Linked DNA regions of Homo sapiens: all the other regions are linked to region 4. The links are contacts of gene promoters, found by promoter capture Hi-C in blood cells and fetal thymus (Javierre and others, 2016). All regions are on one chromosome and are shown on one strand. The core of a region is centred on a gene start or on the middle of the fragment in contact, and the rest is flanking DNA. Distances in the headings are between cores, read along the strand shown. Region 1 has its middle 6.5 kb from the start of S100A2. Region 2 overlaps ATP8B2 (ATPase phospholipid transporting 8B2). Region 3 has its middle 20 kb from the start of S100A2. Region 4 holds the start of DENND4B (DENN domain containing 4B). Region 5 holds the start of SNORA58B (small nucleolar RNA, H/ACA box 58B). Region 6 overlaps UBAP2L (ubiquitin associated protein 2 like).

The links. The method cuts DNA at HindIII sites, captures the fragments that hold promoters and counts their contacts. A CHiCAGO score of 5 or more calls a contact.
Region 1: a contact is called between a fragment that was not itself captured here and the fragment with the promoter of DENND4B in region 4, in 1 of 17 cell types (M2 macrophages). The highest score is 5.5, in M2 macrophages.
Region 2: a fragment that was not itself captured here is called in contact with the fragment with the promoter of DENND4B in region 4 in 1 of 17 cell types (total CD8 T cells); the score reaches 5.5 in total CD8 T cells.
Region 3: a fragment that was not itself captured here is called in contact with the fragment with the promoter of DENND4B in region 4 in 2 of 17 cell types (total B cells and M0 macrophages); the score reaches 5.7 in total B cells.
Region 5: a fragment that was not itself captured here is called in contact with the fragment with the promoter of DENND4B in region 4 in 6 of 17 cell types (naive CD8 T cells, naive CD4 T cells, naive B cells and 3 more); the score reaches 6.7 in naive CD8 T cells.
Region 6: a contact is called between a fragment that was not itself captured here and the fragment with the promoter of DENND4B in region 4, in 3 of 17 cell types (fetal thymus, naive CD4 T cells and naive CD8 T cells). The highest score is 5.4, in fetal thymus.

The regions. Positions count from the first base shown.
Region 1 is chr1:153,558,002-153,560,704 of GRCh38, forward strand. No RefSeq gene overlaps it. Among named protein-coding and RNA genes, the nearest start is that of S100A2, 6.5 kb to the right of the region's middle. The HindIII fragment of the contact is 3,344 bases long and covers 1-2,703 here.
Region 2 is chr1:154,336,162-154,339,062 of GRCh38, forward strand. It overlaps ATP8B2 (ATPase phospholipid transporting 8B2), which reads left to right. Exons shown (of 28, transcript NM_001370597.1): 12 at 1,187-1,383. It also overlaps the pseudogene RNU7-57P. Among named protein-coding and RNA genes, the nearest start is that of ATP8B2, 12 kb to the left of the region's middle. The HindIII fragment of the contact is 731 bases long and covers 1,069-1,799 here.
Region 3 is chr1:153,584,039-153,586,738 of GRCh38, forward strand. No RefSeq gene overlaps it. Among named protein-coding and RNA genes, the nearest start is that of S100A2, 20 kb to the left of the region's middle. The HindIII fragment of the contact is 198 bases long and covers 1,178-1,375 here.
Region 4 is chr1:153,945,270-153,948,319 of GRCh38, forward strand. It overlaps DENND4B (DENN domain containing 4B), which reads right to left and starts at 1,449. Exons shown (of 28, transcript NM_014856.3): 1 at 1,032-1,449. CRTC2 (CREB regulated transcription coactivator 2) reads right to left here. Exons shown (of 14, transcript NM_181715.3): 14 at 2,406-3,050. The coding sequence ends at 2,840. RefSeq lists enhancers at 121-170, 639-1,139, 1,951-2,020 and a silencer at 661-1,560. The HindIII fragment of the contact is 4,483 bases long and covers 1-3,050 here.
Region 5 is chr1:154,257,892-154,260,668 of GRCh38, forward strand. UBAP2L (ubiquitin associated protein 2 like) reads left to right here. Exons shown (of 27, transcript NM_014847.4): 21 at 1,086-1,139; 22 at 2,057-2,138. It overlaps SNORA58B (small nucleolar RNA, H/ACA box 58B), which reads left to right and starts at 1,836; the gene lies at 1,836-1,971. The HindIII fragment of the contact is 872 bases long and covers 885-1,756 here.
Region 6 is chr1:154,234,681-154,237,693 of GRCh38, forward strand. UBAP2L (ubiquitin associated protein 2 like) reads left to right here. Exons shown (of 27, transcript NM_014847.4): 5 at 1-79; 6 at 516-611; 7 at 1,886-1,931; 8 at 2,344-2,456. Among named protein-coding and RNA genes, the nearest start is that of UBAP2L, 15 kb to the left of the region's middle. The HindIII fragment of the contact is 7,636 bases long and covers 1-3,013 here.

The DNA of each region.
Region 1 (2,703 bases), core at 12-2,511, 390 kb before region 4:
GAGCCAAGAAGAACCACTTATAGAGAGCAGAACTGGGCCCTAGTCAAGAATCTGGTGACATATGTCTGACTCAATTTCGGAATTGCTATGGACCAATGCACCAATTTGTGCCTCCAGTACACCACCACACCCTTAAGAATAGGCGTGTTTGTGGCAGTTATCTTTTTAAAAAAAAAAAGAAAAAAAAAAAAAACAGAGTCTTACTCTGTCACCCAGGCTGGAGTGCAGTGGTATGATCTCAGCTCAGTGCAATCTCCACCTCCCAGGTTCAAGCGATGTTCCTGCCTCAGCCTCCCGAGTAGCTGGGATTACAGGCGCATGCCACCATACCAGGCTAATCTTTGTATTTTTAGCAGAGACGGGGTTTTGCCACTTTGGCCAGGCTGGTCTCAAATTCCTGAGCTCAAGTGATCTACCCACCTCAGCCTCCCAAAGTGCTGAGATTACAGGCGTGAGCCAACAAGCCTGGATGGCAGTTATGTATCTTTATCTCACCTGTGAACATCGACTATGTTCTTCACAGGACTTCAGGTCAAGAGGAACCACTTTTGAGGAGCCGTCCTGGAGGAACTGCACATGAGAAGCCTTGTTCATATCTCTGGGCCTGTCTCAGATAATAAGATCAGAGACATCAAATTGATGCCTTAAAGAGATGAGACTTTGTGGGTCTTGGGAAGGAGATTAATGTATTTTGCATATGGGAGGGATGTGAATTGCGGTTGCTAGAAGACAGACTATGGTATTTAGTCTCCAAAGATGGTCACTGTCAATTTTATGCACGCTGCTCTTTACATTAAAAGATGTCTAGCCAGGCGCGGTGGCTCACGCCTGTCATCCCAGCACTTTGGGAGGCCGAGGCAGGCAGATCACGAGGTCAGGGGTTGAAGACCAGCCTGACCAACATGGTGAAACCCTGTCTCTATTGAAAATACAAAAATTACCCGGGCGTGGTGGCGCATGCCTGTAATCCCAGCTACTCAGGCAAGAGAATCACTTGAACCCAGGAAGTGGAGGTTGCAGTAAGCCAAGATCACACCTCTGCACTCCAGCCTGGGCGACAGAGCAAGACTCCATCTCAAAAAAAAAAAAAGAGAGAGATGTCTAATTCTCCTCCTCCCCTTAATCTGAGCCAGACTTAATGATTTTTTTTTATCATTAGAATATAGCAGAAATGATGTCCTGGGATTTCTGAAATAAATCTTAAGAAATACCAGGCACAGTGTCTCATATCTGTATTCCCAGCACTTTGGGAGACCAAGGCAGGTGGGACCCTTGAGTCCAGGAATTTGAGACCAGCCTGGGCAACATGGTGAAACACTGTCTCTACAAAAAATGCAAAAATTAACCAGGTATGGTGGCGTGTACCTGTAGTCCCAGCCACTTGGGAGGCTGAGGCAGGAGAATTGCTTGACCCTGGGAGGTGGAGGCTGCAGTGAGCCATTATTGCACCACTGCACCCGGGCCTGGGTGACAGAATGAAACCCTGTCTCAAAAATAAATTAATTAATTTAATTAAAATTAAAATTAATAAATCTTAAGCCTACCAGCTTCCACGTAGGCCTCATGCAATGCTCACTTTGGGATTTGTCCTCTCAGGACCCTACTGCCATGCTCTAAGAAGCTCAAGCCACATCGAGAGGCCATGGTAAGCACTCCGGCTGGCAGTTCTAGCTGAGGTCCCAGCTCACATTCGATATCAGTTGCCACGCATGTTAAGCAAGCTACCGTAGAAGTTGAGTTTGTTCAAACATTCAGATTACTCTAGCTCCGATTTCCACCTACATGGAAGACCCCACGTGAGAACCATCAACTAAACCCAGTCTACCTGCAGAACCATAAGAGATAATAAATTTTTGCTCTCGGCCGGGCATGATGGCTCACATCTGTAATCCCAGCACTTTAGAACCCGAGGCGGGCAGATCACCTGAGGTTAGGAGTTCAAGACCAGCCTGACCAGCATGGAGAAACCCGTCTCTACTAAAAATACAAAATTAGCTGGGCGTAGTGGCACATGCCTGTAATCCCAGCTACTCAGGAGGCTGAGATAGGAGAATCACTTGAACCCGGGAGGCGGAAGTTGCAGTGAGCAGAGATTATGATGCCACTTCACTCCAGCCTGGGCAACAGAGCGAGACCCTGTCTCAAAAAAAAAAGAATGTACAATATAATATAGAATGTGTTGTATAGAATACAATACACTTGTTTTCTGAAAACAGGTGTACTGCCTGTCTTGGTCCATTTTGTATTGCTACAACAGAATACCACAGACTGGTATTCAAAACAAAACAGATATTTATTGGCTCACCATTCTGGAGGCCAGGAAGTCTAAGCTGGAGGGGGTAACACCTGGAGAAGGCCTTCTTGCTGCATCATCTCCTGGTGGAAGAGCAAAGAGAGGGAGAGAAATAAAAGGTGGGGGGACAAATTCATCCTTCTATAAGGAACCCGCTCCTGTGATAACAGCACGAATCCATTCATTACAGCAGAGCCCTCATGGCCTAATCACCTGTTAATTACTATTGCTTTGGAGATAAAGTTTCCAACACATGAACTTTGGGGAACACATTCAAACCACAGCACTGCCTATGGCCTGTATTCTTTTTTTTTTTTTTTTTTTTTTTTTTTTGAGACACAGTCTTGCTCTGTTGCCCAGGCTGGAGTCCAGTGGCCCAATCTCAGCTCACTATAACCTCCATCTCCCAG
Region 2 (2,901 bases), core at 184-2,683, 390 kb after region 4:
AAAAGTAGCTCATCCCCACTCTTACCAACTTTGAGGACTCTGGAAGGTTTCAAGGTGCCAGATTGAGAGCTAATCAACTATTTCAGTTTCTTCATCATATAGATGAAATAATGGTCAGACAGAAGGCCACATGATAATTGGTGACAGACTAGAACCTGTCACCAGTTCTGAGCTTTTTCCACTAGAGCAGTGGTGTCCAATATTTTGGCATCCCTGGGCCACATTGGAAGAAGAATTGTCTTGGGCCACACATAAAATACACTAACATTAACAATAGCTGATAAGCTTAGAAAAAAAAAATTGCAAAAAAAAATCTCATAAATTTTTTTTTTTTTTTTTTGAGACGGAGTCTCACTCTGTCACTAGGCTGGAGTGTAGTGCAATGGCATTATCTCGGCTCACTGCAACCTCTGCCTCTCGGGTTCACGTGATTCTCCTGCCTCAGCCTCCCTAGTAGCTGGGATTACAGGTGCCCGCCACCACACCCGGCTAATTTTTTTGTATTTTTAGTAGAGATGAGAGATGGGGTTTCACCATGTTGGCCAGACTGGTCTCGAACTCCTGACCTCATGATCTGCCCGCCTTGGCCTCCCAAAGTGCTGGGATTATAGGTGTGAGTCACTGCACCTGGCCTTTTTTTTTTTTTTTTTTGAGACAGGTTCTTGCTCTGTTGCCCAGGCTGGGATGCAGTGGCATGATCTTGGCTCACTGCAATGTCTGCCTCCCGGGTTCAAGCAATTCTCATGCCTTGGACTCCTGAGTAGCTGAGACTACAGGCAAGTGCCACCAGGACTGGCTAATTTTTTTAATGTTTTTAGTAGAGACGGGGTTTCACCGTGTTGGCCAGGCTGGTCTCAAACTCCTGACCTCAGGTGATCCATCCGCCTCAACCTCCCAAAATGCTGGGATTACAGGCTTGAGCCACTGCGCCCAGCCCATAATAGTTTTTTTTTTTTTTATAATTATTTTTCATTTAACATTCAGCTGTTACCAAAATCTCATAGTGTTTTAAGAAAGTTTATGAATCTGTGTTGGGCCACATGTGGCCCAGAGACCATGGGTTGGACAAGCTTGCACTAGAGCATCTGAGCTTTTGAGGGCTCAAGGGATGAATACATCACAGATGCACTTGGTTTTGAGGGCTTCCTACATGTCAGCCTCGCCTGTGCTTCTCATTCCTCCCCAGATTTTTGGATTCCTGGTTTGCATGGGGGTGATCCTGGCCATTGGCAATGCCATCTGGGAGCACGAGGTGGGGATGCGTTTCCAGGTCTACCTGCCGTGGGATGAGGCAGTGGACAGTGCCTTCTTCTCTGGCTTCCTCTCCTTCTGGTCCTACATCATCATCCTCAACACCGTTGTGCCCATTTCACTCTATGTCAGGTATGTGCCTTCTCTGACCTGGGGTCTCTCCAGGGAGTCAGGCGGTCCCATAGAACTTTTCTTTTCTATGAAGATGAAGTCCTTGAGAAGTAACGAGAAGTCCTCTTCTTCCTGTACTGTAAACATTTGATGTTATCTGTTTATCTTTGTGGGCAGAGCAAACTTTTTACCACAGTTTCCTGGTACTTGGGACTGTATTAGAGAAAAAAAAATATTGATTTATTCAGCACCTATTTATTACATGCCTACTGTGTACAAAGAAGTGTGCTAGGTGCCATCACAAATAAAAGATGAATTAGGAATGGATCTCCTTCCTTCTAGGAGCTTACGTCTAGTAAAGGAAGGAAAATCTAAACACATTATAAAACAAAATAGGAACCAGTGCTGTAGAATTCGACCTAGAGTCTTCTATGTGAAGCTTGGGGATACAGAGATGTATAAGGTGGCCTCTGCCTTTAGCAGCAGCAGATGGATAGGTCGAGGAGGGGAGATCTGGACAGTGTCAGACTGAGATACCATGTGGGAGGCACAGGGTGCCCGGGGACTGGGAGAGTGTCGCTCCCTAAGCAGGTAGGCAGAGAGGGAGAGATGGCATTTGCTCTGGGCTTTGAGTGGTGACTGGGCTGGATGAAGGTGGAGCCACAATGGAGAGGAGGCTGAGAGGGCTGGAAGCAAAGGTGTGGAGATGGGAGCCTGGGAATGGCCTATGGAAATAGTTGGCCAGGGTCTTGGGCCAAGAGCAAGAGCTGGAAACATAGCTTGCTCCTGATTGTGGAGGCTTTTGAATATTTGCCTGTGGACTTTGTATTTACTAACCATTAAAAGTTATTGAAAAGACTGGGCACGGTGGCTCACACCTGTAATCCCAGCACTTTGGGAAGCCAAGGTGGGCGGATAACGAGGTCAGGAATTCGAGACCAGCCTGGCCAACATGTTGAAACCCCGTCTCTACTAAAAATACAAAAATTAGCCAGGTGTGGTGGTGGTTGCCTGTAATCCCAGCTACTTGGGAGGCTAAGGTAGGAGAATCGCTTGAAACCGGAAGGTGGAGGTAGCAGTGAGCCAAGATCACGCCACTGCACTCTAGCCTGGGCAACGAGCGAAACTGTGTCTCAAAAAACAACGAAACAAACAAACAAACAAAAAAGTTTTTGAAGAAAGTCAAAAGAATGTATTCTGTATTCTAAAAATGCATTCTAAGTGTTACAGCTCTTTTAGAATTTGTCTAGCAGGTTTTCCAGTTTTCACTGGAACCCCTCCCCCACAAAAAGAAAAAAATGCATTCTAAAAAAAAACTAAAGAATGCTTTAGGAAGTATTGACTGGCAGTAGTGTACAGCATGAATAGGATCAAGGCAACATGTAGGATGTTTGAGGTAAAGAGAATGTTAGCAGGGACAGGCCAGTGAGAATGAAGGGGAGGATCGGAGGAAGACGAGGCAGGAGGAATGGCCAGGGGAAAGGAACTTTCTTGCTTAGTGCCTTGCACTTGAGATAAGGGAACCTGTGACATTTTTAA
Region 3 (2,700 bases), core at 27-2,526, 360 kb before region 4:
TGGTAGAGACTGCTAATTGTCCTATTACCTATTCTCCCCTTGTCTTTCACAGCAAAAGAATCTTTGCTTTTAAGTTCAAATAAAGGCCACACTTCCCAGCCTTCCTTGCAGCTGAGTGTAGCCATATGACTAAGTTCTGGCCAAGAGAAGTAGAAATGGGGTATGCAAGTTTTGATTCATGCTCAAAAGTCAGAGACATGCCGTTTCTTCACCCTGCCACTTAGAAAGTACATGAGCTATTTGGACCATACGAACTAGGGGTGGTTAAGCAGAACCACCAAACCAGCCCTGGACCACCAACCTCCAGATAATACAGGACAGAAAAAAAAAACTTCCCTCTCATTCACGTCACCACTATTTTTGGTATCCGTTACATACAGCCAAACCCATGTACCAAGCAGATCATCCTACATACCAACACCAGAAATGTATCGTATGAGAAAGGAAAATTGAGACCCAATCTCACTTATGATTATAGATGCAAAATCCTAAATAAACTGTTAGCAAATGGAATCAAGTATTATACTTAAGAAAAATTATGACTAAGTTGGGTTTATGTCATGATTGCAGGGATGACTTTAACATTAGAAAATACATTAATGTAAGTCTCCACATTAAGAGATTAAAAATTAAAACCATATGATGATGCCAGAATAAATTCAATACCCATTTATAATAATAACGCTTAATAATCTAGGAATAGAAAGGAACATCTTGACCAACAAGCAAAAACCTACTGCAATCTTATTTTTTTTTTTTTAGTGGGGTTTCACCACGTTGCCCTCACTGGTCTCAAACTCCTGAGCTCAAAGGATCCACCTACCTCGGCCTCCCAAAGTGCTGGAATTACAGGCATGAGCCACCACACCCAGCCTGCAATCTTATTCTTAACATTAAATTATTCTTAACAGTAAATGAATGAACAGTAAATGCTTTAAAATTGTTCCTGTTAAAGTCAAACACAAGGAAAGGATTCTTGCTATTATCACTTTATTCAACATTAATTTGAAGGTTCTGACCATTACACTAAGGAAAACATTTTTTCAAGGTCTAAGGATTGGAAAAAAACAAGGATATGATACAATTGCCTCCAGAGAAGAAACAAGCAGGGCAAAACACAAGGCCTATCAGGATAAAAAGCTGATGCAAGTAAGTCGGGGGCTGATCTGAGGCAACAAGCTTCCTCCCACTGCAAATCCACAGAGCTGGAGGTTTAAATCCAGGGAGACTGCCTTTTCCCAGAGCTGCTTTTTATTTTTTTATTTTTTTATTTTTTTTCCACATGTATGAGTGAATATTTTATTTTTTTATTTTGTATATATATAGATAGATTTTTATTATACTTTAAGTTCCAGGGTACATGTGCACAACATAAAGCTTAAAGGCAAATTCCCATCCAGGATGTTGCCCAGCGGAATGACCGCAAACAAAATGGTGACACTAGTTCTGCAGTGCCTTTGGCTGTCCACACTGAGGATTTCCCCCAATACCTCCAGATGCAGTAGCTGAGAACAACCCCCACTCCAGCCCAGGAAACACAGGCTCACAAGCCAAAATCACCAGAACCTGAGATGTACAGAAATTGTAACAAAATACCCCCCAAAAAGACCAACATGAACCATTTGAAGCATAGTTATTGAAACTGGTAGACCAAAAAGTTAAATTAAGGTAATAAAATCCTCAAAAAGATAAAGGAGAGATTAGTGATAGAAATAAAAACAAGAAGTCATAAAAAAATAACTGTCCAGGCGCAGTGGCTCACGCCTGTAATCCCCGCACTTTGGGAGGCAGAGGCGGGCAGATCACAAGGTCAAGAGATCAAGACCATTCTAGCCAACATGGTGAAACCCCGTCTCTACTAAAAATGCAAAAATTAGCCGGGTGTGGTGGTGTGAGCCTGTAATCCCAGCTACTCAGGAGGCTGAGGCAGGAGAATTGCTTGAACCCAGGAGGCAGAGGTTGCAATGCACCAAGATCGTGCCACTGCACTCCAGCCTGGGTGACAGAGTGTCAATAAAATAATAATAAAATAAAATAAAGAGCATAATCATTGGGAAAAATAAAAGATGGCTACAACTGGAGAATAAATGGATGAGCTAAATGATCAGACTGAGAAACTCTCCCAGAAGGCAGAAGTAGAGAACAAAGAGAATATTTTTAAAGGAGCTAAGTGCTATGGAGAATAGAAGTAGAGTGCTCATATCAGGATAACAGGATTCCCCAGACAGGGAATTAAAAAAAAAAAAAACAGAGAGGAGGAAATAATGAAGTAATAACATTGAAACACTTCTGAGAATTAGAGAAAAAGATCTCAGATAGAAAGGGCTCATAGAATGCTAAATAGGGTAACTGAGGAAAAAAACACATTTAGACTCATATTGAAGTGGAAGAAGATCAAATTCAATTAAAACTCTGAACATTTCCAAAAGCAATAGATTGCCTACAAAGGAATTGAGAAGTAGGTCCGTTGTGCACTGGTTTCAACCTGTCTGAGTCAAGTTAAACAGACACACACAGACACACTCAAGTTACATGAAGCAGGTTTATTACTTACAGATTGAAAGCAGGGGACAACAGAAGCCTCAGATTCATGGCAGGCTGGTACCCCAAGGCTCAGAAAAGCTGCCCAGGAACTACCAGTCATACTGGATTAGAAAAAGAGGAAAAAAAGAAAAAAGAAAAGCTGCCCAGGGCAGATGG
Region 4 (3,050 bases), core at 199-2,698:
AGGGAGGTTACTTCCTGAAACAGTGGAGGGGAAGCTGCAACTCAGAGGAAGTCAGCCTATGGGTGTGTGTGGTGGCGGTGGCGGTGGTGGGGTTACCATTGAAGGTGCCAGCACAGCATTACGCCAAGTTGGAATCTCAGACTATAGGATCCTGAGCAAGGCAGAGGAGGCTCAGAATGGTTCCAGGATGTGCAGTCCTGCTAACCTCCTGCTGTTCCCCCAGAGAACAGGGAATAAGGAATCTCATAGAGCCAGGCTGGCTTTCTTCATCACCTGGCCTCTGGACACACACACACACACACACACGCACACACACACGCACACACGTACACACACCAACCCCAGCTAAATTTAGACTCCACTTCTGGGAGGTAAAGCCAGGAGTCAGCGTCAGCCTCTTGATTTAATTCTGGGGCACAGACCTGTCCCTCATCCACTGAGGGCGAATGGGAGCCCTATGCCCAAGGCAGCAGGCAGAGGCCATTAGGTGGGACCTTCTGAGGGGCAAGTGGGTGGCACCCATCCGCAGGACCTGCGCACCGGGGCCTCCCCTCACCAAGCCAGGGAAGAGTCCTGCAGAAAGCAGCCCTTTCTCCCTAGGGAAGACAACGGGCACAGGGCCCACTCCGGGTCCCCACGCCCGCGTGCCGGGTGACGGGAAGTTCGGGTTGGGGCAGAGGGCGCGCCGAGGGGGAGGAGGCTGAGGAAGGAGCAGGAGGGCAGAGAAGCAGGCGCGCCGGCGGCCGAGGACGTGACGGCAGCAGCGCCGGCCGCCGCGTGACCCAAGCGGGAGGGAGGGCGGCTCCGACTCCGGCACCCACGGGAGCAGAAGGGGGTGCAGGAGGCCGGGCACGGCGAGCTAATTGCGGGAGGTGCCCTCCCCTCCACTTTCACTTCCCCAGGAGAGAGGAACCGGAACCAGATGTGCAGTGAGGGACAGCAGCTGGGGGCCATCCCCCACCCCGCCTGCCGCCCGCGCTCCCTCCTGCCCGTCCCCGCCTGCCGCCCAGCCCGGTCCAGCCCCTACCTGCCTGTCCCGCGCTTCCCGGCCGGCCGGCCCGCTGGCGGGTGGCTCGGAGGGCGAGCTGGCGGGCCGGCGGGCGGCGGGGCTACCCGGCCCCAGACATGGCGCACCCGACTTGGGCGCCGCTCCCGCCCGGGCAGTGAGTGAAGGAAGAAGAGGCGGCCGAGGACCGCAGAGCGCGGGGCGCAGTGGAAGGAGATCCGGGCGGTCCCCGCGTCCCCGCCGCGCTGCGCCACGCGGGGACTGTGCTGCCGCGCTGCTCGCTCGGCCGGCTCGGTCCTCCCAGCTCCCGCGGCGCCGGGGACCCAGCGTTCCTCCGCGCGCCCCGCTTTCTCTACTCCCCCAACCCCCGCTCCGGGCCGCGGGCGCCGCCGCTACCCCCACCCCTCCTCCTCGGCCGGCGGCCGTGACCCTGGCAAGCGTCTGCCCAAAGCCCAGCCGCCTGCAGCCCGACCCCTGGCGGCTGGGAGGGCCCCCTGCACCCAGGTAGCTTCCCACCATCCAGCCCGTGCCTCAGGACACTGACCCCAGGCGACCCAGAGGGCCGCGGCGCGCTCCCTTCCCGCCTGGGTCCTGCAGTCAGATGTGGCAAGCATGATGTGGGCGCAGGTGAAGTCCCGAAGGTCTAGTCTACGGGGACCCAGGTGGCTCCCCCTACTTCCAGGTTTAGGGCACAGGGCATTCCCTTTGGACCAGAACCAGAAGCTCTCAGTTCTCTTTTTTGAAAATGACAAGAGCTTTGGAAAGAGGAAGAGAGGCCAGGACTGCAGGGTGTGGAATAGAGCAGTGGAGGTGGGGGTAAGGTAACTGCGGGGCTCTACTTTTCTCACTATGCGGGTTGGGGGAGTGAGGGGTGCAGAGGCCCACACGGCTGGTCCAAGGGCTGGCAACCCAATCCAGAAAGAGAAAACCTTCAGAACATGCATGGCACTGAAGGATCTGTTTAATTAAAACTAAAATGAATGAGTGGTGAAGAGTGGAGAGGGTGAAGTGAATGCATGCATAGTGAGGGAGTGAGGATGAAGGCTTGCTTCCCTGAGACCTAGGAGCACTTCAGACCTGTGGGCTCAGCCAGCAATCACCTCCTTACCCGACTCACTGCCAGACCTAGGGTTGAGGAAGAGGAATAACTTGTCTGATCAGTCAAAGCCCCCATCTGATGCTGCAGCAGGGCCCTGGACAGACAGGAGGGCACATGAAGTGATTTCCTGCTGCCGTGGAAGCCTACATCCAGCTGGGTACAAATTCCGAGGCTGTGGGGCCCTTCCACAAAGCACAGTGGTGCTAAGAAGATGCAAAAAGCCTAATAGATAAAAAGACCCATGGCCCTATAACTCCCTAGATCCCCAGCCATGCCCCAAATAACTAACCACACCAAGGGTTTGATATGATTTTTTTATTAACATATAATAATATATTTAATAAAAAATAGTATCCACTCTGGCTCTCTCCTCCACTGCAAGGGGAAGAGTGGTGAGGAGGGGCTGGCACTGCCCACCCCTAGGCATCCGGAAAAGCCCTGCTTCCAGGGCTCCCCTCTACCCCTGCTTTCCAACAGGCTCTGACCTCCAGACAGACGGTTCAAAGTTACAAGTGCTTTAGGCCCTCCCTTGAGTTCCCCCAGGCCCATCCCTTGCGCAGAATTCAGGGGCCACCTGGACAAACCCCTTGCTTTTTCTCATTCTTGGCATCCTTCATTCATGCTAGAAAGAGGATCTGGGGACAGAGAGTAGAGTCTCTACCTGCCAGGGGGAAGGGAGGAAAGGAATGGTGGTGGGGGATGGGGCCAAGAAGAGGGATGGTGATGAGGTGCCCTCATTGGAGCCGGTCACTGCGGAATGACTCCTCCACAGCAGGATCAGGCAGCAGGGCACAGGGGTCACTCAGCATGTTTAGCCCTTCCAGGCCCAGTGGCTCCATGCGCAGCTCATCTTCTAGCCCAAGCCCTAGCTCCAATCCAGCTGCTGACACCTCAAAGCCAGGCACTCCGGCCAGGGCTGCTGCAATCTCCTTAGAGAAACCTGGA
Region 5 (2,777 bases), core at 71-2,570, 310 kb after region 4:
ACAGCTTCTGGGCCTCAGAAGCCAAAGGCCAGAATGTTCATCTGGAATCCTTTTTGGTTTCTTAGATAATTATGACTATTATTTTATTTTTTGAGGCAGATCTTGCTCTTTTACCCAGGTTGGAGTACAGTGGAACGATCATAGCTAGCTCACTGCAGCCTTGAACTCCTGGGCTCAAGCAATCCTCTCACCTCAGACTCCCCAAGTAGCTAGGACTACAGGTGTGCATCCCCATGCCTGGCTAAGTTTTAAAAATTTTTTTAGAGACAGGGTCTTCCTATGTTGCCTAGGCTGGTCTCAAAATCCCAGGTTCAGACAGTCCTCCTGCCTCAGCCTCTCAAATAACTGGGGTTATATATAGGCCTGAGCCACTACTCCTGGCCCCAAGAATTATTTTCTCTGATTTGATTAAATCCCTAACTCTGAGTGTGTTTGCTGGTCTGGCCTGGTTAGAGGAAAGTTTCCTGACTCAATCTGGGACTTTGAGAATAAGTGGCTGACATTAGTAGCTTTTTGCCCTAGTGTATCTTCTGTGACCTTCAAGTATTTGGTACCTATTAAGATGAAGGATATATGGAAACGTTTTAGAAGATACCTGTTCCTGCCCTCATAGACAAAGTCTAGATAAATTTCATACCGATGACACATCCAAATAACACAGTTACACATTTTTAATTTGTGGTCACTACCTTAAAACCCTGACATTGGAGAAAAGTGAAGTATTCTTTCCAGAGGAGATTATTTTTAAGCCAGATTTTGAAGAGTATAAGAGACAGAGACTTGTAGAATAGAGAGTAAAACTGGTTGTTCGTGTATGTTTTGTGTCTACTCTATTGGTATCAAGAAGCCAGCCTACTAGAATCAGTAGTATTTAGCTCAAGGAAAGCTTCAAGACCTTTCATGAATCATTTAATCTCTGTGTACTTTACTGCTTTTTCCTTAAATAAAATTGAAGGAAATAATCCGTGTCCTGTTCTAACCCAGAATGAGGATGAATGTTCTGTTGAATTAGCTTGTCTCTTGGCTCCTTGTTTTGCTAACATCATGACCAGTTCCTGTTATTGCTATATGTCTGTATCTTTCAGCCACAAGTATATGGTTATGATGACTTGCAGATGCTTCAGACAAGATTTCCATTGGTGAGTATGTGGGATAGAGCTTTGGAAAAGAAAGTAGTCTTAAAATTAGTGTTGGGAGAATTATCTCCGTCACAGACATAGCTCTTTCCCATCCCAGCCCTCCATACACTCTGATTTAAGGCATATTAGAATATAGGGATTTGGGGGAGGGTTTCCAACAGAAGATAACTTTTTTTTTTGAGACAGAGTCTTTCTCTGTCGCTCAAGCTGGAGTGCAGTGGTGTGATCTTGGCTCATTGCAACCTCCGCCGCCTGGGTTAAAGCAATTGTCTGCCTCAGCCTTCCGAGTAGCTGGGATTAAAGGTGCCCACCACCACCCCCAGCTAATTTTTTTTGTATTTTTAGTAGAGGCGGGGTTTCACCATCTTGGCCAAGCTGGTCTTGAACTCCTGACCTTATGATCCACCCGCCTCTGCCTCCCTAAGTGCTGAGCTTATAGGCATGAGCCGCCGCACCCAGCCTTTTTTTTTTCTTTTTTTAAATCAGAGTTGTGGCATCTTAGTAAATACATTTTAACCTATTCTATAGCCCAGTAAAGTACTCTGGAGCACTCAGGGTGCTTTCTGTTTGTCCCAGACACTTTAAATTATCGAATGATCTGTTTTCTCAGTAGAATAAGCTTGGTATAAACTGATAGGGATGACACCTAGAGGGTTGAAAATATTGGTCCTCGTGGACTTTGATGTATTCTCAAGTGGGCATACCCGTAGACCTTGTCTGACTGTGCTCATGGCCAGGCAGGGGGGACAGTGTATGCAAGAGTAATGTGGAGTTTGTGCTAACTCTAGCCAGCTTAATTAGTGACTGGATAAATTGCACAACTCTCACATTCTTCTGTTTTTTCCTCCGTGGAAATAGTACTCATGCTGGGGAATGAGTGACATTGAATCTCTGCTCTTTTTTCCCCTCTTTTCTAGGATTACTACAGCATCCCATTTCCCACACCCACTACTCCGCTGACTGGGAGGGATGGTAGCCTGGCCAGCAACCCTTATTCTGGTAGGATTGGGATGGGACTAAATAAATAAAAAGGGAGATAGTGTTGGGATTGATGGCAGACACCTGATTGGTAGCAAGAAGGGATGTGATAAATCAGGATTGGTAGATTCAAAATCCTGCTAAAGTTGGGCATGTCATGGCTTTTCCTATTCATCCCACTTTGTGTTGTCTCCCTGTGATTTCTAGATGATATCTTAGCCAGGCATGGTAGCACACACTTGTAGTCTCAGCTACTTGGGAGGCCAAGGTGGGAGAATTGCTTGAGCCCAGGAGTTCAAGACCAGCCTGGGCAACATAGCAAGACCCCATCTCCAAAAAAAGTGATATCTTGACTTAGTTTCAAGCCATTTGCTAGCTTTTTCCAGGAAATACAGTGGTTGAGGTGGTCTTCTCTGCTCATCTCTGCCCCTTTATGCTACTACTCACAGTGGCAATCTCACTGCCTTGCCACTCCTTCTTTTACCTGACCTATCATTGTCCTCATTGACTTACCGTTTTCCCTGATCCATCGTTGTCCTTCAAGTCCAGCATGGGGTATTCCCCATGGAGGAGAAGAGGGGAGGGAAGAAGAGGGAAGATGAAAGAGAACACAAGTGGGCAGAGAAATTGTGCAGGTGCCTTATTCCAAGAGCCTCCTGC
Region 6 (3,013 bases), core at 380-2,879, 290 kb after region 4:
CGAGACCGGGACAGAGACTATAGTCGGCGACGTGGTGGGCCACCAAGACGGGGGAGAGGTGCCAGCCGTGGACGAGAGTGTATGCATGGGGCTTTATCAAAACCAGCTGTGGGTCAGTAATGTCTAGACTCTAGGGATGTGCCAGGGCCCTGCTAGTCAGGACCTAGGAACCATTATATTATCCTTTTGCTTTTCTTGCCGTCGTCTGTTCTGAGACCTTGACATCTCTTGCATGTGGCCTTTTCTACCAACTGCCACCAGTCTGGCATGAGATTACCCTGTAGTCATTTATAAAGTTAAATTTGACTTGCAGCTCTCCATTAAGGCACATTACCATTCCCTGAGAAACATGTTCCCATCCTTCCAGCTCATTTTCTCTTCGTTGTTTTTTTAATTCCCAATACCATATTACATACCATTTATATATTTGTATATATCCTGTTGACTGTGCTCTGGCCATCTGTGGTTTGGTTTTTTTGTTGTTGTTGTTGTTTTAATTTTTATTTTTATTTCAGTTCGAGGTCAGGAAAATGGATTGGATGGCACCAAGAGTGGAGGGCCTTCTGGAAGAGGAACAGAAAGAGGCAGAAGGGGCCGTGGCCGAGGCAGAGGTGATCAGTTTGTTGGGGGATGGATATTGGGGGCAGGTTACTCTTTATTCATTAATGGTCTGCTTTATTTTTTTTTTTTATTGGAGGTAGTCTCACTCTCACCCAGGCCGGAGTGCAGTGGCACAGTCATAGCTCACTGCAGCCTCAGACTCCTGGGCTCAAGTGATCCTCCTGCCTCAGCCTCCCTAGTAGCTAAGACTACAGGTGGCCGCCAGTATGCCTGGCTAATTTTTTTTGAGATGGAGTCTCGCACTGTCACCCAGGCTGGAGTGCAGTGGCGCGATCTTGGCTCACTGCAACCTCTGCCTCCCGGGTTCAAGCGATTCTTCTGCCTCAGTCTCCCAAGTAGCTGGGATTACAAGCGTGCGTCACTACGCCCAGCTAATTTTTGTATTTTTAGTAGAGATGGGCTTTCACTACATTGGCCAGGCTGGCCTCGAACTCCTGACCTAAAGTGATGCGCCCGCCTCGCTAATTTTTAAATGCTTTTGTAGAGATGGAGTCTCAATATGTTGCCCAGGGTGGTCTCAAACTCCTGGCTTCAAGAGATCTTCCTGCTTGGCCTCTCCAAGTGCTGAGGTTATAGGTGTGAGAGACAGCACTTGGCTCCAGGGTCTACTTTGTTTAAAAACAAATTAACATGAAGTCTAGTTAGTTAATTCCTGAGGTGTCATGCATATACTAGAGATTGCAGAAGGGGAGAGTGAGAAAGAAGGTAGATGTCATTTCCTCTAGTCTTTATTGCTAGTATTGTATTTGCTTGAGGACATGGTAGTCTGAGAGCAAAAGAAAAATCTCTCAACAGTAATGATTGTCCTACTCTATTACTGATGTGTAACATGGGACAGAGAGAAAGAACATCTGATAGTATCAACCACTTTTTATTCCAGAGCTGCCTCAGCTGGCAGGGTAGTTTTTTGTATTTTTGAGGCAAGGTTTCACTGTCACCCAGGCTGGAGTGCAGTAGTGCGGTCTTAGCTCACTGTAGCCTCTGCCTCCTGGATTCAAGTGATCCTCCTGCCTCAGCCCCTCAAGGAGCTGGGACTATAGGTGTGTGCCACCACACTCAGCAAATTTTTGTACTTTTTATAGAGATAGGGTTTTGCTCTATTGCCTAGGCTGGTCTCGAACTTCTGGATGCAACCAATCCGCCCGCCCTCAGCCTTTCAAAGTGCTGGGATTACCACCGGGAGCCACTGTGCCTGCCTGGCAAGGAAGTTTTATATCAACTTCTAAAATACATCTCTCTTCTCTTTTTCTCATTCTTTCTTTAGGTGGCTCTGGTAGGCGAGGAGGAAGGTTTTCTGCTCAAGGAATGGGGTAAGTTTCATTGATCTAGTGTCTTAATTTTTTTTCCCTTAAAAATTACTGTAGGCAGCCTTAACCAAAATGATCAGAATGATTTCTAGACTGGTCAGAAAGATATGGGGACTTAGGGCTCATTTCTTAGGGATAAACCTTTACCACCTGGATCATTACCTATATTTTATATATCTTTATTTGAATCAATATACCTGTTCTTTTCTCAGAATATCTTAGATATATGTTGAGATTATACCATGAAATTTTGGGTAGAGTGATAAGTGAGAAAAAGTAGATGACACACAGGATTATAGAATGGGGCCATGACAGATTTGTACTAGGAAGGATGCAGTCAAGATTTTGATTCTTTGAGTTAATATTTGCCAAAGCTGCTTAGAGGTCAGAGACTCTTAAGTTTTATTTTTTCCAGAACCTTTAACCCAGCTGATTATGCAGAGCCAGCCAATACTGATGATAACTATGGCAATAGCAGCGGCAATACGTGGAACAACACTGGCCACTTTGAACCAGATGATGGGACGAGTGAGTGACCATTTATCATTCATTTCTTGTCTCTGGGAATCTAAGGAAATAGTTTTTTCTGATTATACTTACATTAAAACGTGGAAGAATAGTGTTTGGTTATGGAGATAGGGTGAGAAAGGGCTGGCAGTTGTATTACTGTGTGTACTGTTTATGTAACGTGCATATGGGCACATTACACATGTTATTTCGCTTAATGCTGCTTGATATTGTATGAAATAATCATTATTTATCATCACTTTCCAGATGACAAAACTAAGGCCGAAAGAGAGGTTATAAATTTGCTAGTATTTGAACTCAGCATTGTTTGACCCTGAAAGTCCATGCCCTTTCAACTATGCTATGTCACTGCTATTAGGTCCAAGTGTATTTTCTAGTGTTTATGTTAGGGTAGTGTTGCCTTTTGAAAAGATAGCCAGAATTAATCAAGCCACTGCTTGTAAAGATGAACAAGGCCTAGAATCAAAGTCCACACTATCCATTTATTTGTTTTCTGTTACTGAGATAAGAATATCCTTTTTTTCCCTTTATTTTTGGGACATGTCAGTATCTGAACA